2 separate regions of the Homo sapiens genome follow, and region 1 is linked to region 2. The links are contacts of gene promoters, found by promoter capture Hi-C in human tissues and cell types (Jung and others, 2019). All regions are on one chromosome and are shown on one strand. Each heading gives the region's core, a stretch centred on a gene start or on the middle of the fragment in contact. The rest is flanking DNA. Distances are from core to core; before and after follow the strand shown.

What was found. Contacts are between HindIII fragments. The study calls those that stand out against the background at their distance.
Region 1: the fragment with the promoter of TBATA here is called in contact with the fragment with the promoter of UNC5B in region 2 in 1 of the 25 tissues and cell types used here (mesenchymal stem cells).

What each region holds. Positions count from the first base shown.
Region 1 is chr10:70,783,230-70,789,637 of GRCh38, forward strand. It overlaps TBATA (thymus, brain and testes associated), which reads right to left and starts at 2,148. Exons shown (of 11, transcript NM_001318241.2): 1 at 2,056-2,148; 2 at 1,418-1,544; 3 at 110-296. The coding sequence starts at 150. The HindIII fragment of the contact is 18,774 bases long and covers 1-6,408 here.
Region 2 is chr10:71,208,982-71,215,303 of GRCh38, forward strand. It overlaps UNC5B (unc-5 netrin receptor B), which reads left to right and starts at 3,589. Exons shown (of 17, transcript NM_170744.5): 1 at 3,589-4,083. The coding sequence starts at 4,005. RefSeq lists silencers at 290-349, 3,490-3,749 and an enhancer at 3,351-3,645. The HindIII fragment of the contact is 13,648 bases long and covers 1-6,322 here.

The DNA.
Region 1 (6,408 bases), core at 898-3,397, 430 kb before region 2:
CCTCTCTTGGACTCCTAATCTGTTGAGATCCCCCAAGGCCACCTTTGTCTTCTACCCTGCCCTACCCCAAGCCCTCCTCAGTCAGCAGGGTGGGCATTTGGAGCCTCACCTCATCAGTGGATAATCAGCCAATTGAACATCTGTAGCCATTGTATGCTTTTTAACAGACTAAAGGCCAGTGCACTTAATACTAGCGTTGAGGATGCAGAACAGGAACTCTCACTTAATACTAGTGTTGAGGATGCAGAACAGGAACTCTCACGAACTGGTGGTGGAAGTGTAAACGGGAACAGGCACTTTAGGGGGAGAAATGGTAATATCTTTTAAAATTGAGCATTTGCATGCTGTATCACCCAGCAATTTCTTTCCCAGATATAAGAGAAATTCTTATAGATGTACAACAGGGGCTACTTATAAGAATATTCATACAAACACTGTTCAAAATAGCAAAAACCTGGTGGCAACCCAAATGTCTGATGGCAGAAGAATGGATAAATAAGCTGTGGTGCATTCAGACAATGGGATACTTTATTGCTATGAAAATAAATGAGCCACAGCTACATGTAACAACATGGATGAATCTTATAATCAGTATGAGAAAACTTAACAATTCTTGGTTTTGCGATGTTATATTTATGCAATCTTATTAACTCAATTTACTTTTTATTAATTACTATTAAATAGGCTGCAGTAGAACAAGATATATGCATTTGAAACAATACAATTGTTGTCATCCACTATATATAATGTGTGGATAATATAAAATAACTACTAAACAGTATAAATGTTGTTTAAAAACATATTATTTTTCTTTCATAAATGGTTTAGTTTATGTGTGTTCCAGAGGACCACAAGTTCCAGAGGACCACATAGCCTGAGATCCTTTCTAAAAATAAAAGTTTAAAAGCAAGCAAAATGATCATGAACATGCGATAAAACAGCAACAACAGCATCAAACAAGGAAATGCTAAGCACGAAATTCACATAGTGGCTATTTCCGAGGGAAGGCGGGGAGGGGAAGTGTGCAGGAGAAGCGCATATAAGGAGATGTGTTAGTGATGATGTTCTTGTTCTTGGTTTGGGTGGTGTATTTGCTTGTGTTTATTATATTATTAAATAAACTAATTAAATGGCATAGATGAAAGATGATAGGTGTCAAAACCAAGAATTATGATTAAATCTATGGACCTGAATATATATATCTAGCCAAAGTGCTAGGGATGGGGTTGGGACAGGACATCAGTGCATTCTGAGAATTAACCCTCAGAGTCACAGAATCTGCAAGGGACCCCAGAGATCTCCCAATGCCAGCCTTCATCAGGTAGTGGGATGGGTTGGAGTTGTCTGAGATCAGGGAAGCAGGGGAGATTTGCTGAGGTCACACAGAAGGAACCAGAGCCCGGGCAGTCTGACTCACAGTTTGCTGATCTTTTCTTTCCTTAAAAGGAAGCTCCAGACATCCTTGATGTCAGGTACTGGGCTCTAGAGTACTGAGATGCTACAATCTTGAGAACAGGATATGTGGAAGCCCCAAATCCTCCTGCCTATGGGAAAAAGTACTCTTTAGAACAGAGACTTGCAAATGTGTTTGGCTGTGATGACGGTAAGAAATTCTTTATGTCATGATCCAATTCACATATGGGTTTGTGTGTGTGTGTGAAACTAAAACAATAATATCCTGAAGCAATATTTATCCGTACTACATATGATGCACACTGATATTTTTACCCTATTTTTGGTTTTTATTTCTTAAATGTTAGATATGATCCATTTAAATTGATCTAATAAGCCACCAGGGGGTCATAACCCACAGCGGCTGTAGAGAGGCTGACAGGGACTCTAGTAGGCCAAGCCTGCCTTGTCCAGAGCGGGACAGGTGGGACCCCAGTGTAGTCTGCCCTGCCCTGCCCCTGCTCTCTGTCCCTGGGGCCCCAGCCAGCCAGGCAGAGGGGTCTGAGGGCTCCCATCAATCCAGCCACAAAACTTCCCTTTCTACCTCTGCCCTTCTGGGCTGTCCAGGGTCCATCTCCTCTCCCGAGAGGTCCCTGGACTCACCAAGGCAGTGCCCGCTACAGCATGTGTACGAGAAGCCCTGCTGTCCTAGCAGGAAGGAGCAAGAGGACAAATCGAGGGGAAGGCTGTGGGTTCTGTGGGCAAGTCTGCCTGCTTTGTGACACTGAGCCCAGTGGTTGCTAGGTTACCCTGTTCCCACAACTCCAGAACCTCTGCCCAGCACCCCTCTACCACATCCCCTGCCTATCTCCCCCTCCTGGAAGGGTAGACAAGGGCTAAGGACCTTCTGTCCCTCCTGACTTCCCTGCTGCCTCCCATCCAACACTTTCAATGGGGGCCAAGGGAGAGAAGGAGAGTCTGGGGCTGGTTTTAGCCAGAGAGAAGCGGATGGAGGCGGAACGCTGGCAGAGGACGTTGGTGGGCTGCGTCCCAGCTTCGTCAGCCCCACCTGGCCTGACCCCACCACACAGGGGTCGGCTTCCATGCATCTTGGTTCTGGGGACCCATTCTCAGGGAGGTGGGTCTTGGAAGGAGAGAAGATGGCAGCCCGCATTACCCAGAGGGACCCCAGCCCCTCTCTCTGCATGACAGCTGGGTGGGAAGATTCTGGGCTTGCATTTGGACAGGTGTTTTAATCAGATTTCAACATCCCATAGACACGTTACCTTGGGTAAGTCACCGGGACTGCCACAGATGCAAAATAGTGGGAAGAATCCTTGCTTCGAGTCCCTATTCTGCTACTTCCTAGTTGTGTGGCCTCAGACAATGCACCTGCCTTCTCTGAGCCTTAGTTCCCATATCTCTAAAATGGAGATGATGATACTGCACTTATTCTCACAGGATGTTTGAGAATATTAAGTGAGTTGATATATATTAAAGCGTTTCAAACAGTATCTGCCCCCAAGTATAATTTCTTACTATTATTGCCTTCTCTGGGTCTATAAAATGGGATATCCTCACCTACTTCTGTGGTTGTTCTGAAGACAAGCTAATGGAAGTGAAGCCTTTAGTTGTATGTCTGGCACACAAGAGATGCTCAAAAAGGATAATAATCATCATTATTATTGGTAACTTGATGGAGGTAGTAGGATGAGTCCTTTGTCTGAGAACTATCTTAGGTAGTTCACTATTTCTCTGAGGCTCAACTTGGACACCTGTCAAATGGGGGTAAGGATAGTTCTTAGCCGACAGGGCTGTAACTCAATCAGATCCCGGGAGGGGTGCAGACAGGCTCTGTAAACTATGGGAAGGCTTGCAGACAGTGCCGGGTGCTGTCCCTCAGAATGATGAGGTGGGCTTTTCCCAGGGCCTTTGCTCTCAGCACCCCTGGCTTCATACTGGTGCCCTGGGGCTTCCAGACTCTGTGTCTTTTCTCTGGGGAGCAAGAAAAGGAAGGTGGGTAGCTAGAGGCAAACCCAAGTCCTTCAAAAGTTCTGCCCCTCCCAGCTAAGGGGTGGGGATTCATACCACTCTGGTGGCCCCCTGAGGGCTGTCCTCTGGTCTTGGCCTACTCCAAATGCCCACCCATCCTTCGGCAGGTCAGGATGTTCCCTGGCTTTTTCTGGGCCTGTCTCTGCAGGAATACGGTGACTCTTTTGAAATCATACTGAAAACCCCCTCTTCCATACTTCTGGGCATCCTGGCAGCTGTGAAGATAGATGATATAGCATTTGGGAGAAGAGAGGCTTTCTTCCCCGTGACAAGCCACTCCTCCCTCCTGCTTTCAGCACTCTTGTGGCATTTCCCACCACGCGAGCTGACTCAGCTGAGATGAAAACCCACTCTCATCCTCCCCACTGGTGCCTTGTAATGCTTCAACTATGTTATTTACAATCGAGCATGGGGGTCTGCATAGGGACTGCAGCTGGGGGGATGAAGGGGTTCCTCAGGAAATGTCTTCAACACTGGTTTGTAAAAGAAGAACTGAGGAAACTCTTCTGACTCCTTTGTGGAGTGTCAAAAACTGTAGAGAGATCTGTCAGCCTGAGAGTGATTTGAGGTACAGTCCTTGGCCTGGATGACTCAGTCATAACAGAGGCAATAGAAACTTCATGGAACACTTTCTATGTGCCAGGCACTGTGCCAACCTCTTAGATATATTACCTCATGTAATCCTATAGATGGAGAAATTAATGATCAGATAAATCTTTAGTTATTTGTGTTGCAAATATATTCTCTCCTTTGTGTCTTGCTTGTCTGTGTCTATATGCAGTCTTTTGATAAAGAGAATTCCTAATTTTAACATAACCCAGTTTATCAATTTTGTCCTTAATGGTTAGTGGGTTTTGTGTTTTAAGAGATTTTTGCCTACCCAAGGTTATGAAGATAATTCTCATTATTATTTTCTGAAGATTTACTGTTTTGCTGTTCATGTTTAGATCTACAATCAATACGGAATTGATTTTTGTGTTTGGTGTAAGATAGGGGTCAAAATTTATATATATTTTTTCCATATAAATATCCATTCGACCCAGTACCATTACTTAAAACATTGTCCTTATCTCTGCAGTACCATCTTTAACAAAATTCAAGTATCCGTATATGTGTGGGTCTGTCTCTGGACTTTCTGTCTACCAATGCACCAACACTATATTCTCTTAATTACTGTAACTTTAAATACATCTTGATGTCTATATAAGTGGTATAAGACTTCCAGCTTTGTTTTTTTAAGAGTGTCTTGGATATTCTAGTTCCTTTGCCTTTCCATACAAATTTTAGAATAATCTTATTGATATCTACAAACATTTTTGTTTAGATTTTTATAGGAATCAGGTTAAACTTCTGTATCAATTTGGGGAGAATGGACATCTTTACCATGTTGAGTCTTCCAGTCCATGAACATAGTATATCTCTCCATTTATTTAAATATTCTTTGATTACTTTAATCAGCATTTTATAGTTTTCAGCATAAAAGCCGTGGACATGTTTTGTTAGATTTTCACCTATTTCAGTTTTTGTTTTTAAAGGAACTGTAAATGGTATGGTATTTTAAATTTTGGTGTCCATATATGCATTGCTAGTATATAGAAACACTATTAATTTGGTATGTTAGTTTGTATCCTGCAACCTTGCTGAACTCACTTATTAGTTTCTGGAGATATGTTGTAGATTCCCTGGAATTTTCTACATAGGTAATAATATCATCTGCAAATAGGGACAGTTTTCTTTCTTTCTTTCTTTCCCATATATATGCTTTTTCTTCTCTTCTCTTCTCTTCTCTTGTCTTACTGCACTGCCTAGAATTTCCAATACTAAGTTGAATAACAGTGGTGAGAGTGCACATCCTTACCTTGTTCCTAATCTTAGGAAGTAAACACAGAGTCTTTAACCATTAAATATAATGTCAGCTGTAGGTTTTTTATATATACTCTTTATCAGGTTAAAGAAGTCCCTCTCTCTTCCTATTTTTCTGAGCATTTTTGTCATAAATGTGTGTTGAATTTTATCAAATGCTTTTTTTCTGCATCAACTAATATGATCTTGTGATTTTTCTTCTTTTGCTGGTCAGTACATTGATTTTTCAAATATTGAACTAGCTTTTTATCCCTGGAATAAGCCCCACTTGGTCATGGTGTACAATTCTTTTTATATATTGCTGGATTCTACTTGAAAATATTTTGTTAAGGATTATTGCACCTATATTTATGATGAATATTTATCTGTAGTTTCCTTTTTGTAGTATCTTCCTCTGGTTTGGGTATCATCAGGGTAATACTAATTTCATAAAATGAATTGGGAAGTGTTACCTCCTTTTCTATTTTCTGGAAGAGATCGTGTAAAATTGATGTTAATTCTTCTTTAAATGTTTGCTGGATTTCTCCAGTGAAACTACCTGGGCCTGGAGATTTATTTTTTGGGGTGTTTTAAAATTGAAAATTCAATTTTCTTAACAGTTATGGGACTATTCAAGAGATCTGTTTCAAAATGGGTGAGTTGTAATAGTTTCTTTTTCAAGGAGTTGGCCAATGTCTCTTATATTGTAAAATTTATTTGTGTAGAGTTGTTTTGTAATATTCTCTTATTATCCTTTTGATATCTGTAGAATATGTAGTGATATCTTTATTTCATTCCTGATACTATTAATTTGTGATTTCTTTCTCTTTCTTTTTTTGCCAGTCTTGCTAGATAGAAGTTTGCCAATTTTACTGATGTTTTCAAAGAACCAGCTCTTTGTTTTATTGATATTTTTCCTTTTTTTTTTCTGTTTTCAATTTCATGGATTTCTGCTCTTATCTTCGTTATTTCATTGTTCTGCTTGTTTTGGATTTATTTTGCACTGCTTTTTCTAGTTTTGTGAGGGGGGTGCTTAGATTATTTGTTGGACACTTTTCTCTCTCTTTTTTTTTGGTAGGGGGATGGAGTCTCGCTCTGTCACCCAGGCTGGAGTGCAGTGAC
Region 2 (6,322 bases), core at 2,339-4,838:
AGGCGCTTCCCTTCTCCAGGGTCCAGGTTTTTGGGGTCCGTTCTGGACCGAACGACTCAGGGGAGGCACCGTGAACTCATTCCCAAGCCTTCCCACTCAAGATCCTGCAAACGGAGTCGTCTGAGTGCCACTTCCCCTGACAACCCGGGACAAGGACTCTGTCAGGGCGGCCCCAGGCGGGGTGGGGCCAGGACAATTCTCCCATCGCCGGAGGAGGGAGACTGGCGGCCACGGGGAGGCGTAAGCGGCAGCGCGCCGCCTGGTGGCACCTTCGCGCACACGGTCCCGACGGAGCGGGAGGCGTCAACCCCAAGCCGGCAGCCACTCCTGCCGGGAGCCCCTACAGCTGCTTTTAAATCGTAATTGTTATCAAATAGGCGGTTTTTATACAGCCAGATTATTGGCCTTATTATTCTTCTTAATACTGTGAAGTAATTATTATTCCTGTTTTACAGTTGAGGAAACTGACGCTGGGAAAGTTTCAGTAACTGGCTTAAGATCCGCCAGCAGGTAAGAGCAGCCCCCAGGTTTAGGGCCACAGCCCTCCAGATCCAGAACTCTTTCCTACACACTCCTGTGGTTTGAGACAAGTGATGGTAGCCGCTGGAAGCATCTGCAGTCCCCACCAAGGGTGAGAACTGGCTCTGGGACTGATTTCAAAGCAGATCTATGCCACAAAGCCTGCCCTACTTTCAGCCTCAGAACCCCCAGACCCCAGGAAATAGAGGGGAGGGGAGGGTGGGGCTCACATAGCAACTCTTAGGCCCTTTGACCATCAACCCCTTTCCCCCCAGCCTTATTGATGTACCCACTCAACCAAGGTTGATTGCATCCCTGCTATGCCAGAAACTGTCTTCAGTGCTAGATATATCATGGGGAACAGGGAACACAGGGCACCTGACTTCAAGCAACTCACTGCTTCGTCCTCATGCTTAACTCCCAGCAGGATGCCTTTGCTGTGAGGCCCATGGCACTCGGTTTGGGAACACCCTGGCAAATCTTAATCCTGCTATCCTAATGTGTCATCCCCCAGGCAGGGACCCTGCCCATTCTTCACCCATCCCGGGGAAAGGTATGGCTCAGGGGGAGTCTGACTCCCTCTGAAGCCCCTTGCCTGGCCTCAACTGACAGCCTGCACTCTTGAGATGCCAGGGCTGGAGAGGAACCACATCTGCAACTGCTCAGCTGCAGGTGGCTAGAGAAGGCTCAGAGACTTGGTACAGGAGCAGGGGCACAGAGCAGTTACAGAGAGATTCCCAACATGCAAAATCCCATGCCCTGATGCTGGAGTCCTGGAGGGAGAGCAGGGCCCGGGACCTCCCAAGAGTATATTTCAAGAGTTGAGAGAGTGGTTAGGCTGAGAAGGGAAGTGGGGCAGGGACTGGCAGGAGAGGGGGTAATGTCTTCCTTTTGCTTGCCCCCATCTCCAGTCCCCCTTCTCTCCACCCAGGAATTAAAGCCGTGAAACCTGATACTTGGACTAGAAGGGCCTGCTGGGTACACTTTACCACCTAAACAGCAAAGTTCCAAGGGGTGGAACTTTTTAGAAAAATCTCCAATACCCCACTGGCCTGAAGGAGAGAGAGAAAGAGGTTGGGGAGAGAGAGAGAACATGCTGTGGTCTCTGCATGCTGCCCGTCTCTGCTGAGGTCCCTGCTGAGCTCTCCAGCACAGGCACAACCTTGACCATGTGCCTGCATCCAGGGGATGACCGTCAGATGTGGGTCTTGGCACAGGCGTGCCTGTATGTGTTTCCTGGCAGTAGTTAAGTATCCAAATATCTATTTGTCTTGGGAGTCATCTGCCTATTTGTGTTTTTAGTTGTGTGCGCCTGTGTGTTTGCTTTTTTTAGGCATACATCTTTGGTATGTGGGTGTCTCTGGAGTCGGGTGCCTATTTGTAGGTGTGATGTTTATGGGAGGTGAAACATTGCACCTGTTGTCTTTGTTGTATGTTTTCGTGTGTGTACCTTTGCAGGTGTGTATGGGTGGGTAGTTGTGTGTGTGCATGTGTATTTGCAAGGTGGAGTTGGTTTGGGTGTGCTGAGCTGTTGACTGTCTCATCCACTGCCCTTGCTAGGGCTGTCAGAGGCCAAGCTAAGCAACCTACCTTTGCCCACAGCAGCCTTTCTCAATTGATGGAAGTTCTTCCCCCAGGGAGTCCCAGTCCACCTGTTGCCACCCTCCTGATGCTGGGTGCCCAGTCAGAGAGGGTTAGGGAGATGTGCTGATGGCATGCACGACCTCCCCTAGATACTCCAAGACCCCGGCTTGTGAGGGGAGTGTGTGTGGAGAGGGTACTAGTCCTGCCTTCACCTCACCTCTGGGGAAACAGCTAGGACAGTCCCCTTCGCACAGCCCAATCCAGCCCCAGGGAAGGTGTTCAAGTGAGGCTCCCCCGTTTAGAGGGTTTCTTTCCAATCCCATCTCCCCCATCCCCTTTGCTCAGTCACTCAGTCACTCCAAGCAGTGTGATCTCCGGCAGGTGGCTTTACACCTCTGTGCCTCAGGTCCTTCATCTGTAAAATGGGATGTAAATGGTGCTTACTTCAGAGGGTTGTGAGAATTAACTGACATGATGCATACAGAGTGCTTAGCCCTGTGCCTGGCACAGGGAAGGTCTTTGCCTATGTTAGCTGATCCGCTCGTTCTGATCTCTCTGGGTTTCAATCCCAAGACACTGCCCATCCTTCAAACCTCACCTGTCCCCACGTGCTCCTTGGACCACCTTTGGGTGGTCAGGACTTTCCCCCTGGAATCAGACTGGCTGGGAGGGGAGAATCTTGGAAAGAGATTATTGACACTTGCACTGCAATTTCCACACAAGTTTTAAAATTTAATTCTATACCCCCTTATGAAATAGTTATCCTTTTCCTCCATTTTACAGATGATGATGAAGGGAGCAATAGAATTGTTAAGTAACTTGTTCAAGGTCACACAGTAAATAAGGGGCAGAGTCCAAGTTTACACTGAGCCAAAAATGGCTGTCCCACTGTCAGGTAGGAGGCTAGTTTACAACAACGCAGGATCAGAGTGCTGGAGGGGTTTCCAGGGGTCTGGTTAACAGTTCTGCCGGAGATCATACAGACAAGCAGAGCCAGCCAGGATGATCCTAATCTATACCCAGCTTCATATCGCTGTAAGCCCCCGCGTAACCAGGACTTGGGTGTTCTCATTTTGGGAGCCTTTTTTTTGGAAAGACCCCCACATGTGGAAGGCAGAGCGCATACTACAGACAGGGGAGCCAAAAGTGAGAGTCCTATGTTTAATCAGAGGAGAAAGCTGACATGGCCAAGCCAAATGAAGGCGCAAAGCCAGATTTCCTTAATTTGGGGGAGCGAAAATTGGGCCGCCTCCACGTCCAGCCATTCTCCAGCGGCCGGGTTTTTCAAAACGCTGCGCCCAGCGTCTCGCGAGGACCCTCCCCCCGGGTCCCCCAGCTCTGCCGCGGCCGCGCCCAGATGGCCGTCGGATCCCCCCTCAAGGTCCCCCTGTCGGCTCCGCCCTCGGTCGCCCAGGCCCCGCCCCGGCCGCGCGCGGTCCCCTCGGTTGGCGAACTCACTCCGGCGAGCGAGCGGCGGCGCTCGGCATTGTGGCAGGCGGCTGGGGCCGGCTAGGGCGCCGGAGCCGCACGCAGCCGCGGGGCTCCGAGAGGCGCGCACTGGGGCTGGGACTGCGCGGCGCCGCCGCTGCGAGCGCCACTGAGCGGTCGCGCAACTTCGGAGGCACAGCGCCGGAGCCAGGCGAGCGCTCAGAGACCCGGAGCCAGAGGGGCGCGCCGGAGCCTCGTTCGAGAGCCGGCGCCAGGCACCCACCGCGCTCCGAGTGCCAGGCGGCCCTCCGCGCAGCGTGGCTTCCGCTGCCCCCACGGAAGGCACGGGCTGGCGCTGCCGGGCGCCGGGGAGGACGGCGAGGAGGAGGCGGCGGCGGCGGAGACGGCGGCGGCGAGACTGGGGCCAGGGAGACAGCCCTGGGGGAGAGGCGCCCGAACCAGGCCGCGGGAGCATGGGGGCCCGGAGCGGAGCTCGGGGCGCGCTGCTGCTGGCACTGCTGCTCTGCTGGGACCCGAGGCTGAGCCAAGCAGGTAGGAAGCGATCGGGTCTGGGGGCGCGGGGCTAGGGGACCCTTGCGCCTCACTCTGTCCTGAAGTTGAGGTGGTCTTTCGTCGCATCGATGCGCGCAGGAAAAGCGGCAAGGGCGCCCAAGTTAGAATGTAGATTTTACTGCCTCCCAAAGTGGGCAATGGCGCATCCACATCGCGGGAGCGGGGAGCAGGGAAGGGGCTTCACAGTAAGCTGAAAGGTCCCTGCTCGCTCCTGAAAGGGATCCCTTCTTCTCCCTGGAAGGGGTGTAGGAGTCAGGGTCTGAGTCTCCGGGAGGATCCGCCTCCTGGGGACGCCCGGCTCTCCGCGCGCCTGGCATCCGCCCCGAAAAAGAACATTGGCTACATAAGCAAGGTGTGCGCTCGCTGCCGTACGCCGGTAACTTACTAGTCTGGTCCCGGCTCGCCTAGGCTCTTACGCGCTATAGGGACAGCAATCTGCAGACTAGAGGGAGAGAGCGAAAAGACCTGCTGAACACAGGAAGCGCTTCGGTAGCCTCGGCAGGCCGGCTTGCAGGGCTCCTGAAGCGGGGAGGGCTAAGTCTTGCACACATAGCTTTCCCCGAGATCGCTGGGCCCGCAGGTCTGGAAGAATTATTATTATTATTATTATTATTATTATTATTAATTTTCTGAGTGTTGGAGAGTGTGTGTGTGTGTGTGTGTGTGTGTGTGTGTGTTGGATGCGGGTAGGGGTTCTTAGCGATCCTGCGGAGTTTCCTTTTAAATTGGTCACTGACATTCTCGCTGTCCGGGGAACAGACTAGGTGCGCTCTCCTTGGTACAGCGCCCGCTCTGGACCCACCAAGATGACTTCAGCGAACTGGTGGGCTCCGAAATAAAGTCCCTAACCCTCCTCTCTCGCCGTGGATGAATACGTTTCTCGCTCGTCCTGTAGCTGGACCCGGCGTCGCTGGCTGGGCTGCGTCTTCTCGGGGAGGCTGTGGACTGAATGGAGCCAGCCTCTCTCTGGTACCCGAACCCAAGCAAGTGGGCTGGCCACGGCTGCCGGGCGGCTCGGCTCCGGAGCCAGGTGGGGACGGGGCCTCCTGCACGGAGTCCTCTCTGAGTTGAGGCTGAGAATGGAGCAGGAAAACTGGAGCAGAAAGTGGACGAGATGACGCAGCCCTCCCCACCTCCTACCTCCTGCTGCGAAGTTGACATCCGCCCTTCCCCCCTCCATAGCCAAAGATTCCTCATTCTGGAATTAGTGATTCCCACGGCCAGGAGTGAGGGCTTGGCTTTAGCACATTCCCCACTTTTTTTTTTTTTTCTGGTGCAAGTCCTGTGCAGTAGAGTTACAACACTCAACCATTTGATCCAAGTTAATTATGATTTGGGCAGACTCTGGTATTTAAAGCAGTGTTTTGAAGTTGGAAGGTAATGATGGGGATGGGGAAGGCAGGCTGCTGAATGTCCAACCTTGTTTTAAAGGGTGCAGTTAGACGTGGGAGGTGCTTGGTTGGGGTGCTGGTTTCTGGTTGGAGGGGGTTTGAGGAGATGATTGAAGGGTAGGGTGAAGTCTCTGTAAATGGCACATGGGCAGGGTTGTGTCTTGGGAAGCTGCTTTTGTACCAGCAGGACAGTGGGATCAGGAATAAATACTTAGGTTACCAGGAATGAGGGGCTGCTGTAGGAGAAAGACAAGACTGGTTGGCCTATAGTTCTCTGGGTGGGTGGGCTTGGCCAAGAAGGCTGGGGGTGGCCTGCATTTCCTGCTTAACAAAGCATCCAGCCCCCACCTTCCCCAGAAGAAACCCCAGGCCCAGGGCTTTGATGGATTTGGGCACGAATGGTGCCCAGTCAGAAATGGCCTCTAATACCCGGCTTTGATTTCTCACCAGCGAGCAGAAGCGGTGTTGGAATTGTGCTCATTACTTAGTGCGGCAGTAGCTGCCTGCCCACCAGCCTGGAGAGGGGCCAACTGGTGGGGTCGGCCTGCAGCCTTCTCATTGCCCAGAATGTGTGGCCCTTAGAAACCTGCCTTCAGGAGGGAGAACATGTCCCTTCCTCCCACACAATCTTGTTTTTCTCTAATGCCACAGGCACAGAGCATCATTCTTTCAGAATGTTCTTTGGGTTTTTCCATTGGATCCTTCACAAGCTCCATTTCACTGATGGGGAAAATCAAGGCCAGAGTGTTGGCTTTCTCCAAATCTTGCCTTCACTTGGCCACAGATTGAAGACATGTGAAGGGCTCCTGTCCAATAGCCAGACTGAT